Regions from separate parts of the Homo sapiens genome. Here region 2 is linked to region 1. The links are contacts of gene promoters, found by promoter capture Hi-C in blood cells and fetal thymus (Javierre and others, 2016). All regions are on one chromosome and are shown on one strand. Each heading gives the region's core, a stretch centred on a gene start or on the middle of the fragment in contact. The rest is flanking DNA. Distances are from core to core; before and after follow the strand shown. Region 1 holds the start of SPINK6 (serine peptidase inhibitor Kazal type 6). Region 2 overlaps FBXO38-DT (FBXO38 divergent transcript).

The links. The method cuts DNA at HindIII sites, captures the fragments that hold promoters and counts their contacts. A CHiCAGO score of 5 or more calls a contact.
Region 2: a contact is called between a fragment that was not itself captured here and the fragment with the promoter of SPINK6 in region 1, in 2 of 17 cell types (monocytes and endothelial precursors). The highest score is 7.9, in monocytes.

The regions. Positions count from the first base shown.
Region 1 is chr5:148,198,599-148,205,115 of GRCh38, forward strand. It overlaps SPINK6 (serine peptidase inhibitor Kazal type 6), which reads left to right and starts at 4,444. Exons shown (of 4, transcript NM_205841.4): 1 at 4,444-4,556. The coding sequence starts at 4,499. The HindIII fragment of the contact is 4,979 bases long and covers 693-5,671 here.
Region 2 is chr5:148,365,787-148,372,385 of GRCh38, forward strand. All of the region lies in intron 2 of FBXO38-DT (FBXO38 divergent transcript), which reads right to left. Among named protein-coding and RNA genes, the nearest start is that of FBXO38-DT, 15 kb to the right of the region's middle. The HindIII fragment of the contact is 1,518 bases long and covers 3,467-4,984 here.

The sequences.
Region 1 (6,517 bases), core at 3,194-5,693:
TGAATGCAAAGTTTAGTTAAAAACTAAAAGTGCTTATAATCAAAGAATGTCAGTGAAATAGGCATATGATGTATGAAAATAACCCAGAAACCTGCTCTTGTTAAGAATACTAAAATTCAGAAAGGTTAATTAACATCCCCCATATCATAGAGATTTGGCAGAAGTAGAATGGACACCCCACATCTATCTGGACTCAAAGTCTGTGTTCATTCTAATCTATCACAGAACCACAATGTGTATTTCTCAGTAGAACTTTAGGTCATTTTTAAATATTGAGTGGAAGATTGAAGTAAATGTTTTCTAAGATGACAATCAAAGAATCTATGTTTTGTTTTTTTCTGCCAAAACATTTAATAATAATTGAATCTAATCCATCAAGTAGAATAGATCAAATTTTATATAAGGTAAGATTTATAAGTGTCAAAAATAAAATGTTTATGTTTGTTATCTTCATTTCAGTGTAATATCAGAAAATATGTTATTAATTAAAGGTATTTCAATCTCAGTCATTCAACAAAGATTTTCTGAATGGCTATTAATTGCTAAGCATGGTTGAAAGTACAACAGATACCACAATGAAAAAAAAATCTTTCCCACTAAGCACTCACATTTTACAAATTTAGTGTGTCTCTCTGGTTCTCCCTTTTTATTCCCTTTTTTCCCCCCAAATATAACATTTGAATCCAGGACAAAGCTTACATAACTTCATGACATTTACATGACATTGGCACCTGGTGAGGTATTTCTTACCAGTTGGTCCCTAGATATTGACTTTTATCTCTCCAGGAATTTTTGCAGTGTAATAAAACTCCTATGGTCACTGTATCATAGAGGGCCTGGTTCTCCATTACCCAGCTCCCTGTTATCTGTTTCATGTGTTATCATACTCTTCTGAGTTATATGATTCCCCCCATCAAGCTATCAATTGTAATGTCTCTTAACTCAAAGTCCCTTGTTCTGAAATAAAAACCCTTCTTGTTCTTGAGCCCTCCCAGCACTTGGCTATCTTGGGGACTATGGATTTCAGCTGCTTTTTCTGATCTTCATTGCAACATGACAGACTCCTGTAAGACTGCTATAAAGTCCAAATACTTGGATATCTTCCTCGATACTGCCCACTCTGTTTTACCCATGATATGCTGACTAATGCTTTAGATGCCTCCAACAGCCAAGGAATTTGAACTAAACCAGGACGATGAAGTCTAAGCTCGAAAACCCCCTTTTTCTTCTCTTCCCGAACCCCTCCTCTTAGTCCTAGGAAACAGTTCTCCTCTTTTCCTAAGTGGTCCAATGGAAGTTCTAAGAAAAACAATCTTCACTCTGAATAAAGATTGGATAGTTGCAAATGAAAAATGCTTGACTTTAGTCTATTGTACAGCTAAGGATGTTAACAAAGATCACTTTATAATTCAATGGCAAGGACTGACTTCCTTGATTAATGCTTTCTTGGATTAAAGTGGTGGCTGTCCTTTTTTTATTTAACAAAAAAAGCCTCTATTTCATGCCCTATGCTAAATGGTGGAAGGGTTCAGGGGTTTGAGAGAAAATAGAGTACATAGCTGTCTGAGAAATGACATTTCAAAATAATACATTTTACAATATATATAAGCAATGGTGGGAAAAGGAAAATGTATATGAACAAGTAAAATGTGAAAACACACAGGCACAGATATATGTATCTCCTTGGATTCAGAGCTAAGCATTCTGAAAGCAATGAAGCTGCATTTCAATAAATGAAATAATATTATATATATAGTTGGCAGCAAAAAATGACAGAATTAAAATTTACCTTAAATTCTCTTGCATGTGTATTAAATGAAATGCAGATGATTTTATATGCTACCATGAATAGTAATTTTTTAATAAATGTATAATGTTTATATAATAAATTTTACATTGAAAATATATTCTTACAGGGTTTGTGTCTTTACATAAAAATGTATGCATAGCTATATTTTGGAAGACCACTGTACGTATGTTGGGACTGCATTCTAGTATGTCTATATAAGAGTCATTGCTTCTACTGCATTCTCCCACATCTCCCTTTCTTTTATTTTTTGTTTCTTTTTTGCTTTTGCCTGATTCAGTATATTGACATTTACTTATTCTTTAATGTTAAGATTTTTAAAACTTTTCCTATTTTTCTTCAGGGAATTAATTAAAACAAAGTTCAAACTACTGTCTTTTACTTGCTATGCAGCCAAACGACTATAATTTTATGTAGTCTGTGAATAATTGCCTTTAATTTATTAACTTCTAGTATTTCACCTTCTTATTTAAAGAGCCAATTAAGTGATTTCCCAGAGAATGTTTCTTACCTTTTCCTTTAGGTTGTATTAAAACAAAACCAAAAACTTTCATATGGCCTCAGAAACCTAAGAAAAAGGATAATTCAATCATTAGGGACCAGATTCTTTCTTAAACTATATATATTTATGATATAATATTTCCTTCCCTATGTCTATCCAGAGCCAATACTTAATATGTGCTTTCATGTTCCTAAGCGTTTTTGTGGTAGGTAGTGTAAATGTTGAGGATAGAGAATTGAAAACATTCTGAAAAAGAGGACAGAGTCATTCTAAATAAGAATAATTCTATTAAAAAATCACCTATTAAAAAAGAACTCTTGAAGATCAGAGGAAAGCAGGGAAGGAAAGACTGGAAGATAGGGAGATGGTAATATTTAGGTGAACAGTGACTGAGAGTGTAGAGGTGAATATGAGAAGCAAGGACCAAAAATGAAACTCTGGGGAGAGAGGAAGAAGTTTAAACAGGAAGTTTAGAAACATCACCGTGAATTTAATGATGGCATATGATCGACTACCACTGTTATGTTGATTTTTTTTATTACTATTTGTTTATGCTTTCAAACTTTTGTCACTTTTGGACATGATTATTATTAGACTAATTCTGTACATTCTAGTCACAGAAGGAGGGAAAAAAAGGTGGTCAAAGAAGGAAGAAACATAGGAAGTAGAATGGAAAGAGGGAGGAAGGTCACAGCAGTACCTAAAACCATGCTATGCAATGCTTTAGTTTTAGGAACTGATCTTTATATTATCTCATATGAATGAGAAAACATACTTAAAGATCACAAATGGGTAAATTGTACAACTGTTGTTTTTAAATTTCATGACTTAAGCAATTTCCCATATATTTTGTTTTTCTAGCTATTTTGACTCCTCTTCCCATAAAGGATTCAAGAAAATTTTAAATATAGTTTTTAAGGTTTTTCAGTAGTGTCTTTGAATACTTTTAACATCTGACCTACATCTTTCTGTAAAGGACTTTAAGATGATTTCCCTCATGATATTTTCAATAGCAGTTTATGATTTGAGGTAGACGTTCTTGTTATCACTACAACCATTCTTTTTTGTTGCTGTTTCCTGAAAGAAGGTTGTGGCATCGCACTCTTTGATCTATCTTGCAATTAAATTGGCCATGAAAGATAATGTGATTCATCTAACTTTTATATGAAAAGTAAAAGGAAATATATTGCTCATTTCAAAAATTCAATTCAGGCCAGGCACAGTGGTTCACGCCTATAATCCCAGCACTTTGGAAGGCCGAGGCAGGCGGATCATGAGGTCAGGAGTTTGAGACCAGCCTGGCCAACATGGTGAAACCCCGTCTCTACTAAGAATACAAAAATTAGCCAGGCATGGTGGCAGGCACCTGTAGTCCCAGCTACTCGGGAGGCTGAGGCAGGAGAATCGCTTGAACCCGGGAGGCAGAGACTGCAGTAAGCTAAGATTGCACCACTGCACTCCAGCCTGGGCAACAGAGAAAGACTCCATCTCAAAAAAAAAAAAAAAAAAGAAAGAAAAAAAAAAAAGAAAATTAAATTCAGTAACTTTAAAAAACAAATTTTTGTTACAAATTAAAGAAAATAATTGACTTCCCTATTTATTTTGACTCAAAACTGGACAACCACTGGCATTTGACTGCTATAATGATTTAAAAATTAATAAGCTGATTCCTGCTCAGAAAATGCTTCTTCTAATGCAGTTCTAGCTACAGTGTGGAATATCTGTCTCCTTTAGGTACACCTTGGATGATCTGGACTCTAAAAATCCAAGTTACACCCAAGATTCCATTATCCTGTGGTTACTCACTTGGACCACAGACATGTAGGACCTGTCTGAAAGAAATATAAGAATCAAGTGGAAGTCAACCAGTGAATCATCCCTATAATGTAGTGAAACTTTAGAAAGAAGAGCCGGGAGGATGTATTGGTTGTTAGGAAAATGTAGGCTACCAGTAGAAAATGACATTCTCTATTAATAAGATCTGAGGTGCGACACACATAATTGTCCCAATTTTTAAGATTGATGGGGAGCATGAAGCATTTTTTTAATGTGTTGGCAGGCCCCATTAAATGCATAAACTGCATAGGACTCATGTGGTCTGAATGTATTTTAGGGCTTTCTGGGAATTGTCTTGACAGAGAACCTCAGCTGGACAAAGCAGCCTTGATCTGAGTGAGCTAACTGACACAATGAAACTGTCAGGCATGTTTCTGCTCCTCTCTCTGGCTCTTTTCTGCTTTTTAACAGGTAAGTTTTTTCTTAAAATTAAGATCCCATATTTATACTGAACTGGATATGATGAGTAGTTGTTTATCATATTTTAAATCCTAATGATTTTGATGTAAAAGACCAATTCTGAGAGATTATCATAATGATGATAATGATTGTGATGACGACAATGGTTATGGTAATAATTATTAAAATTACTGTGATTTGTTGAGCATATACTATATTCTAGGCATGTACGAAGGGATTTTATGTATTGTCTCTGAGACTCATAATAAGGTATTTCTATCTCTGTTCTTCATATAAGAAACTGTGGAACAGAGAAATTGAGAAAATCAGCAAAAGACTTGCAACTAGTAGTTAGAATCTGGAATTTGAATCAGATTCTCTTGCCATCACATTTAATGTTTGTTCCATAAAACTAGATTGGAGGATGGATAATTGCATTAAATATTGGTTTTGCTTTCCAGAACAAAGAAATATTTTCCTCCCCTTAGTTATTATTACAAAGACATTCAAATAATTAAATTAAGACAATGGGGAAATTGGAAACTCAATGAGAAAAATCTTTGAAAATATGTAATTGAAACTTAGAATGCAGAAACATATGTTTCTGGTGAGCTAAATAATCTTAGAGAAGGAGAATATCTTTGGACACTTTAGTGAGGTTCAAAGCACAATCATACTTCAAGGTTATGTTTTTTAAGACAGAACCATCGGAATGAGCAGGTCCATCATAAGCTATTTTCTTCCTTATTATTCTACTCTTTCACGTTGTAGGGCACAAAGCAAATGCTAGTTTTTAGACCTAAGACCTAGTTTCATCTCTTCTATTAATGGCCTGTGTCACTTAAAGAAATAACATAATTTTCTGAGATATTTTGTCATTTGTAAAATAATAGAAATAAAACTAAGCCCTGGGACCTTCCATATCTTATGTATCATTTTGTGTGACAGTAGCAGATGAATTTTACTACTATGCAAGATTTTAAATGGATGTACAAGTAAAAAAAAAATCAATGAGATTTAGCTGATAGAGAAGCCAGTGTTCACTGTAGCTGGTCATAATTACAAAAACAAATACACTTAGAAATACAAAAAAAATGGGTAAAGGATTCCTGTGATATTATGGAGTAAGCTTGACTACTAAAGCCAAATAACCTTAATGGGTAGTTCAATCAGTTGCTGAGATGGCAGAAAAATATATATCTGACTATGTAAAGTTTAGCTGCAAAGATAGTCTCAGAAATCAATTGTTATTTCCTTTTCTTCTCTTTACAAAGGTGAATTGATCTTTAACAGGATCTGGTTGACTAATACAGTTTACCAAAGCATGGATGCTTCACAGACATACTAGATAGTATTTGGGAGGCCATAATGCCTAAGGGCCTTAATGCTGAAACAGAGTAAAGTGAATTTTAGCCCTGGCACTTTCATTTTATAGCTTTGTGAACTCTCTGATGTTTATTTCACTTATATATAAAATAAACATATAAAGGACTATCTCTGTGTGGAGAATTAAATGAGAAAAAGGCATGTACAATGCTTAACATAGTGGATGGGGTATAGTGCATGTTTAACAAATGTCTATTAACATTATTGCCATAATAAAGTTTAATAAAAAGAGTACTAAATTGGACTCCGTCATTGTGAATATTAATCCTGTTTTTGCCTTGCCAATTCCTACGTATGAGACATTAGGCAAATCTCTCCTCTTTTGATGACAGATTTGTACAGTGGAGACTTACTGAAAATTCTAATAATAAAATATCCCTGGCTATAAAAACCACTTAGAGTCTTTAAAAAATATGGACTGTCCAGGAACTCTCTGGTTTTATATAATAGAATTTTTAAGTGATTGCCCTAAGAATTTGTCATTTTAATAATCACCCATATTGCTAGTTATAAATCAATAAGGCTGGTAATCACTGCTGAAAAAATGAACAGTAACCTTCTTTCAAATTAAAAAACAACAGCTTGTT
Region 2 (6,599 bases), core at 2,976-5,475, 170 kb after region 1:
ACAACCAAGGACCTGGGCTGTACAGCCTCAGTTACCCCACAAGATAGAAACCCCAGCAACCCCAAAGGCTCTGGTTGCTGAACTTAAGATAATATAGTTTTGATGCTTGAGGTTTAAAAGATATTTTATCATTATCTCCTCTCTACATAAAGTAAAACACCAGAACACTTATATTAGAAGCCATTAACAGATCATTGCAGGATACAAAGTTTGACCTGTGAGTTTCGTTTTAGGTCCGTCAGTGCAGTCATTATCAAAAGAAGTTTACACAACAGAAACATATATGCTCCATGAAAGTCAGCCCATTATGTGCATCTAATAACATTATTAATCCTAATTCCTGAGTGTACTGCTTCCTAATATGTAAATGAAAACATGAAACCAAAAATAGAACCCTCTTTTGAGAATTTAACATGTAACTGACTGCAATCAACTATTTACTGTTTTGGAAAATGTATGTGAATTCCTCAAAATGTGATTCTGTAAACTAAAAAGAAAAAAAAAGTCACTGAAATCTCAGTTCCACTCACTGAACCTGAGGGAATAGGGGGACAGGCAGTAAATAAACGGGACTTCGAATTCCATCTCCAACTTTAGAAGAGAAGCCTCCCTTTATCTGTTTTAAACATTAATTTCAACATGGGATTCCATGAAAAAAAAAAAAAAGGTTCTTTTCCTAAAATGTAAATCACAGCTGTAGGAAACATTACTTTTTTCAAGATAAGACTAAAATAATAGGTTTCAGCACTTGAGGTCAAAAGCCCTTGGGTTGAATCCTGCTCCTGTGTTTGAGTGATATTGGGAAGTCTCATAATGCTTCCAAACCTCAAGTTGTCATCTATAAATCTGGAATATTTGGAATGATATTTACTGCTTCACTTGCTACATATGCTCCATCCACATTATTGACTCTTCTTTTCCGATATTTTCAAACCTGGAAAGCTCTTTCCTGCTTCAGAAACTTTGGGCAATCTGTCTTCTCCTACAAGAATGTTTTCCCATCCACTTCACAGGGCTAATTCTTCTTCATCATTTGGATTTCAGTCTAAATATAACTTCCCACGGATGGATTCCCTGACCATTCTATCTAAAATATATTCACCTCTGATATTTTTTATGTTAATTTATTTCTATTTCCTTTGTAATACTTGTCATAATGACCATATATTTTAATTTTCTGTTTATTTTTGGTCTATCACCCAATGTAAGCTCCATGAAGTCAGAAGGCAGGTTTCTGATTAATTCCTAGCACTTAACACAGTATCTGCACCAAGTAAGACCTCAACAAGTACATTTTGAATGAATGAATAATTCAAAGGGTTCTTGGGCAGAATGAATGTGATAGTGGATATAAAACATATTTGTAAACCTAAATCACCCTTTATAGGTAATTTTTTTAAAAAAATTCACTACTTATTTTGGCTCAAACTCTCTGAATGGAATGTGGGTTTAAGAATGAAGACTCTGATCCTATAGAACTAGATTGGGACCTCAGCTCTTCTGCTTAAACTTATGTGACTTAGGGCAGAAAACATAATCTCAGTCATTATCTTAGAGGTTGGCTATGAGGATTGAAAAAGATAATGGATCAAGAGGGCTTAGCATAATCCCTGTCACATAGCAAGCCCTTAGTAAATAACAGATGACTGACCTTTGTTGCTACTAACTAGGGGACCAACCATTTCAGTTTTCCATGGACTAAGGGTTTTCCTAGACATGAGACTTTGCATATTAAAATAAGAAAGTCACAGACAAACCAGAATGGTTGGTCACTCTATCATAAACACGCCTTTGTACTCAGCCCCTAGTGCTCCTTCCATATTTCCCAACTCACTCAGACCAGATAACCTATACCATAGTCAGCCTTAGCCAGTACAGCAGTATCTTCCAAATGATCTCAAAACCTCATCTGATAGGCCTTCATGTTGTGGTCATAATTCGACGGCATACAAAGGGATTCCATAGAAGGGAGAGAAACTGCATGGATGATTGCTACTTCTTCTCCCAAATGTTTTATTAGCTAACCACATTTCATCCTTTCTCCAAATCTACTGTCTTACCCTTCTCTGCAATCCCAAGGATTCAGGGAAATAAAAAATAACTCTCAGTGCTAAAAATGTATTCTTAGGATTTAAATTTTAATAGGATAAATAATAAATGTACTCTCTTAAACTATACAATTCAGTGGTCCTTAATATATACAGAGAGTTGTACAACCATCACTGCTGTTTAACTTCAGAAAAATTTTCATTAAAAAGAAACCTCTACCCCTCTGTCATCTCCCCCACCCCAGTACCTGGAAACCACTAGTCTACTTTTTGTCTTTATAGATTTGTCTATTATGGACAATTCATATAAATGGAATCATATAACATGTGGCCTTTTTTGTCTTCTTTCACTTGGTATAGATTTTCAAAATTCATCCATGTTGTAGGATGCATCAGTTATTTGTGCCTTTTTATGGCTGAATAATACTTCACTGTTTAGATATATCACTTTTCATTTATCCATTCATCCATTAATGGACATTGGGTTGTTTCCACTTTTGGCTAGCATGAATAATGTTGCTATGAACATTCATTTACCTTGGGTATAAACCTAGGAGTTAAATTGCTGGGGTATATGAAAACTTTAACTGAGGAACTACCAAACTGTTTTTCAAATCAGCTGCAGCATTTTACAATCCCAGTAAAAGTATATGAGAGTTCTAATTTTTCCATATCTTTACCAACACTTGTTATTGCTCATCTTTTTAATGATAACCATCCTAATAGGTGTGAAGTGGTATCATAATCATGAAAACCATGGTTATGATTTTCATTTCCCAAAAGATTTAATGATGTTATATATCTTTTCATAGGCTTCATTGAAGAAATGTCTATTCAAATCCTTTGCTCACATTTTACTCAGATTATTTACCTTTTTATTGTTAAGTTGTAAGAGTTTTTTATATATTCTGGATACTAGTTCCTTAATGGATGTTGACTTACGGATATTTTCTCTCATTATGTGGGTTTCTTTTCACTTTATTAACAGTGTCCTTTGAAGTGCAGGAGATTTTAATTTTATAAAGTACAATTTATCTATTGCTGCTTGTGTTTTTGGCATCATATCTAAGAAAACATTGCTTAATCCAAGGTCACAAATATCTCCTCTGTTTTCTTCCAAACGTTTTAAGTTTTAACCGTTACATTCAGATCTTTGACTCATGTTGAGTTAGATTTGTATATGGTGTGAGGCAGGGAATTCAACTGTATTGTTTTGTATGTAAATACACAGCTATCCCAGCACTGTTCGTTGAAAATACTTATCTTTCCTCATTTAATTGTTTTATAACCTTCATTGAAAATCAATTGACCACAAATTTAAGGATTTATTTCTGAACTTTCAATTTTATTCTATTGGTCTATATGTCTATCTTTGTGCCAATACCACACTCTCTTGATTATTGTAGATTTTCATAGTAAGCTTTGAAGTCAAGAAGTATGGGTTCTTAAAATTTGCTCATTTTCAGACTGTTTGGCTATTCTGGGTACTATCCTCAGGAAGTATTAAACGTATTGTCAAAGAATAATGCATAGATATGTTCTGCACAGTAGTTCTAAGGGTAAAATACAAAAAAAGATCTAATAACATATAATTAGTTTCTAATAATATAATACATAATTATAGCACATCTATAATTAATACTTTCTGGAAAAGAGTTAGTAAATGGAATTGTGTCACTGTCTATGGTAATGCTACAAATATCAATGCTCTAATGCCCACTAACTTTATTTGCATGAAAGCCAATATTTTCCAAACTTTCCATTTTCCAAATAGTTCTTAGCATCTCCAGACACAATAGTGGAACTCGAGGGAAGTACAGTTTTCTTACGTAAGATCTTCTTTTCCCATTGTTGTGCTGCCACTTAAATATCCTTGTCCATGATTCTCTGATGTTTACTACACCTCCACCCTACTGCTCAGCTTCTTCTTATTCCAGGTCAGTTGTGAAATCCATTTTGCTTCCCATGCCCACTATTTCAGAGGGAGTTTATGCATAAGACTGATCTGGTTCCTCAACTTTTCTACTTATCTCTGTTAGCCTGAAGTTGCTTTCTTCTAAGATTATCAAGGCATTCCAAATGTGTGGCCAGGTCATGTTCATAACAAAGTGAGGGGGACAAGCGTATCTTTACACTAACTGTACATGTGCCTCCCTCCATCCTTCAAACCCCAGCTCGGGTTCTAACTGGTACTGTGTTTCTGCATCTTGGGGAAGTCAAAGGTTGATCCACTTTAGTGCACCAAATCTCTCTGGCTTTTTGCTTATAGGCTCATCCTTTTTTAGCGCTATATGATTTAAAAAAAAAAAAACTTCACTAGACATCACCTATTAACTTTTCAAAAAATAATCATGACCTAACATTAAGTTTACAAAATGTATCAAATGATGCATATTGTATGATTAAACTTTAAAAAATGTATTTATTGTATATACTCAGAAACATAAAATATTTAAGAGAATAAATAATGAGGAAACTTTTGAAAACCTACAAATAGGCCTGATTTCAATTTAGTGCTTATTACATACCAAGCTCTGTCCTTGGTACCACATAGAAATTATCTCATTCAGTATTCGAAACAATCCTACAAAGCTGAAATTGGCATTACCTTTCATTTTATAGATGATGAAACTGACACTTAGAGAGATTTAGGGACCCAAGATATAATTGCTTATAGGGAGAAAAACCAAGAAACAAATCTAGGAATTTGACTCCCAGAGCCTACAAGTTTAAATTCCTATTATCTTATCTTATGACTAGAAACTTTTATTTGGACAGAATTTTAGGAGTTTTCAAAACAGGTTCTTATATTTATCCCAAGAATGTTTAATAAACACCTAGAAAGTTCCAGACACTCTGCTAGGTGCTGAGAAAACAAAATAAAAAATAAGATACTATTATTCTCAAGCTACTACTACAAATAATATATGGTTATAAGCTTACGACAGTTAGAAAGTACTTTCCCAAACAGGACCCCTGTAAGTACATGGAAGGCAGGGGAGAGATATTTCCTTTTACATATAAAAATGAAGTACTCCAAAGTTGATTGCCTTGCCCAATGTCAAATAGGAAGTATGTACGGAAGATGAATAATATTCCTTATAACTTCACAGTAGCTCCTATGTGGCTATTGTTAAATTTTTTAAAAATGGGCCACTTTTTGAGAGGATCACTTGAGGCCAGGGGTTTGAGACCAGCCTGGTCAACATGGTGGAACCCCGTCTCTACTAAAAATGTATATAAAAAAAAAAAGCCAGGCATGGTGGCAGGTGCCTGTAATCCCAGCTGCTCGGGAGGCTGAGGCAGAAGAATTGCTTGAACCTGGGACGTGGAGGTTGCAGTGGGCTGAGATTGCGGCATTGCACTCCAGCCTGGGTGACAGAGTGAGACCTTGTTTAAAAAAAAAAATAGGCCACTTTTGCATGAAACACGCACACAAAATTTCATTGACTATAACTTAGTATAAAATTTAGTATTTTGCTTGGTATTGTTATTACATTTCTGCTGAAGAAGACAGATATTTTTCATTTATGTTTTCTACACTCCTGAGTTTATCCTGTTCTTAACCATTATGGTCTTTGCCCCAGTAATGCGTATGCTTCTTGTATTATGGTCTTTGTCTCAATAATAAGTATTCTTGAAGTTCATAGAGCATATCCAAAGTGATCCTCAAAACAGCCTATTTCCAAAGTGATCCTCAAAAGAGCCTATCTCAGTCGGTATCCATCATTATGGTCATTTTATCAACAAGGTAATTCTGATTCAGAGAAGTGAAAAGATTTTCCCAAGGTACCTTATCAATTTATTGATTTCCTCATGCTCTACTTTTTAACATACAGGTTTACACATTCGTTAAAAGCTCTAATAATGTTTTGCCATGATTACAAATCAGAAGCATCTCCAGGGTGAAAGTGCATAATGAGGGGAGAGGAAAATCTTTGTAGCTATGGGCTATTTGTAAGCCAGGAGTTTACAAATCAAGTTCTCTCTCCATTTATCTATCTATCTATCTATCTATCTATCTATCTATCTATCTATCTATCTATCGGGTCTCACTCTGTTACCCAGGCTGGAGTTCAGTGGCATGATCTTGGCTCACTGCAACCTCAACCTGTTGGGCTCATTCTCTCTCCTTTCAAAAAATTATTATATAATATAGAGATTATAATATGCAACTAGGCCGGTCAAGAAAGATTATATTTCATTTTAATGGTTTGTAAATATTTATATCAATTTCTCTTAGAGCTTTGAATCTCACTCTCAACATTCAATACCATGGAAAATGCAGAAAGTCCCCTGCATCTTGAATATGAAGTGATTTTTCTTTGTTTTTCATGAATGAAACCATTTGAAATAAGCATCATCTCTCATTCATAAAGTAGAATTCATTATATTACCTTATTTTTTAAAGAAAAGCAATAAATCTTATCTTATGGAGAGTTCCTCTTTGACTCGAGATATATTTAATTACATACATCAGAACTGTTTGGTTCTAGAAATACAGAGCTGAATAGGAAGTAACCCCTGACATTGGGCAATTCACAGTCTAAT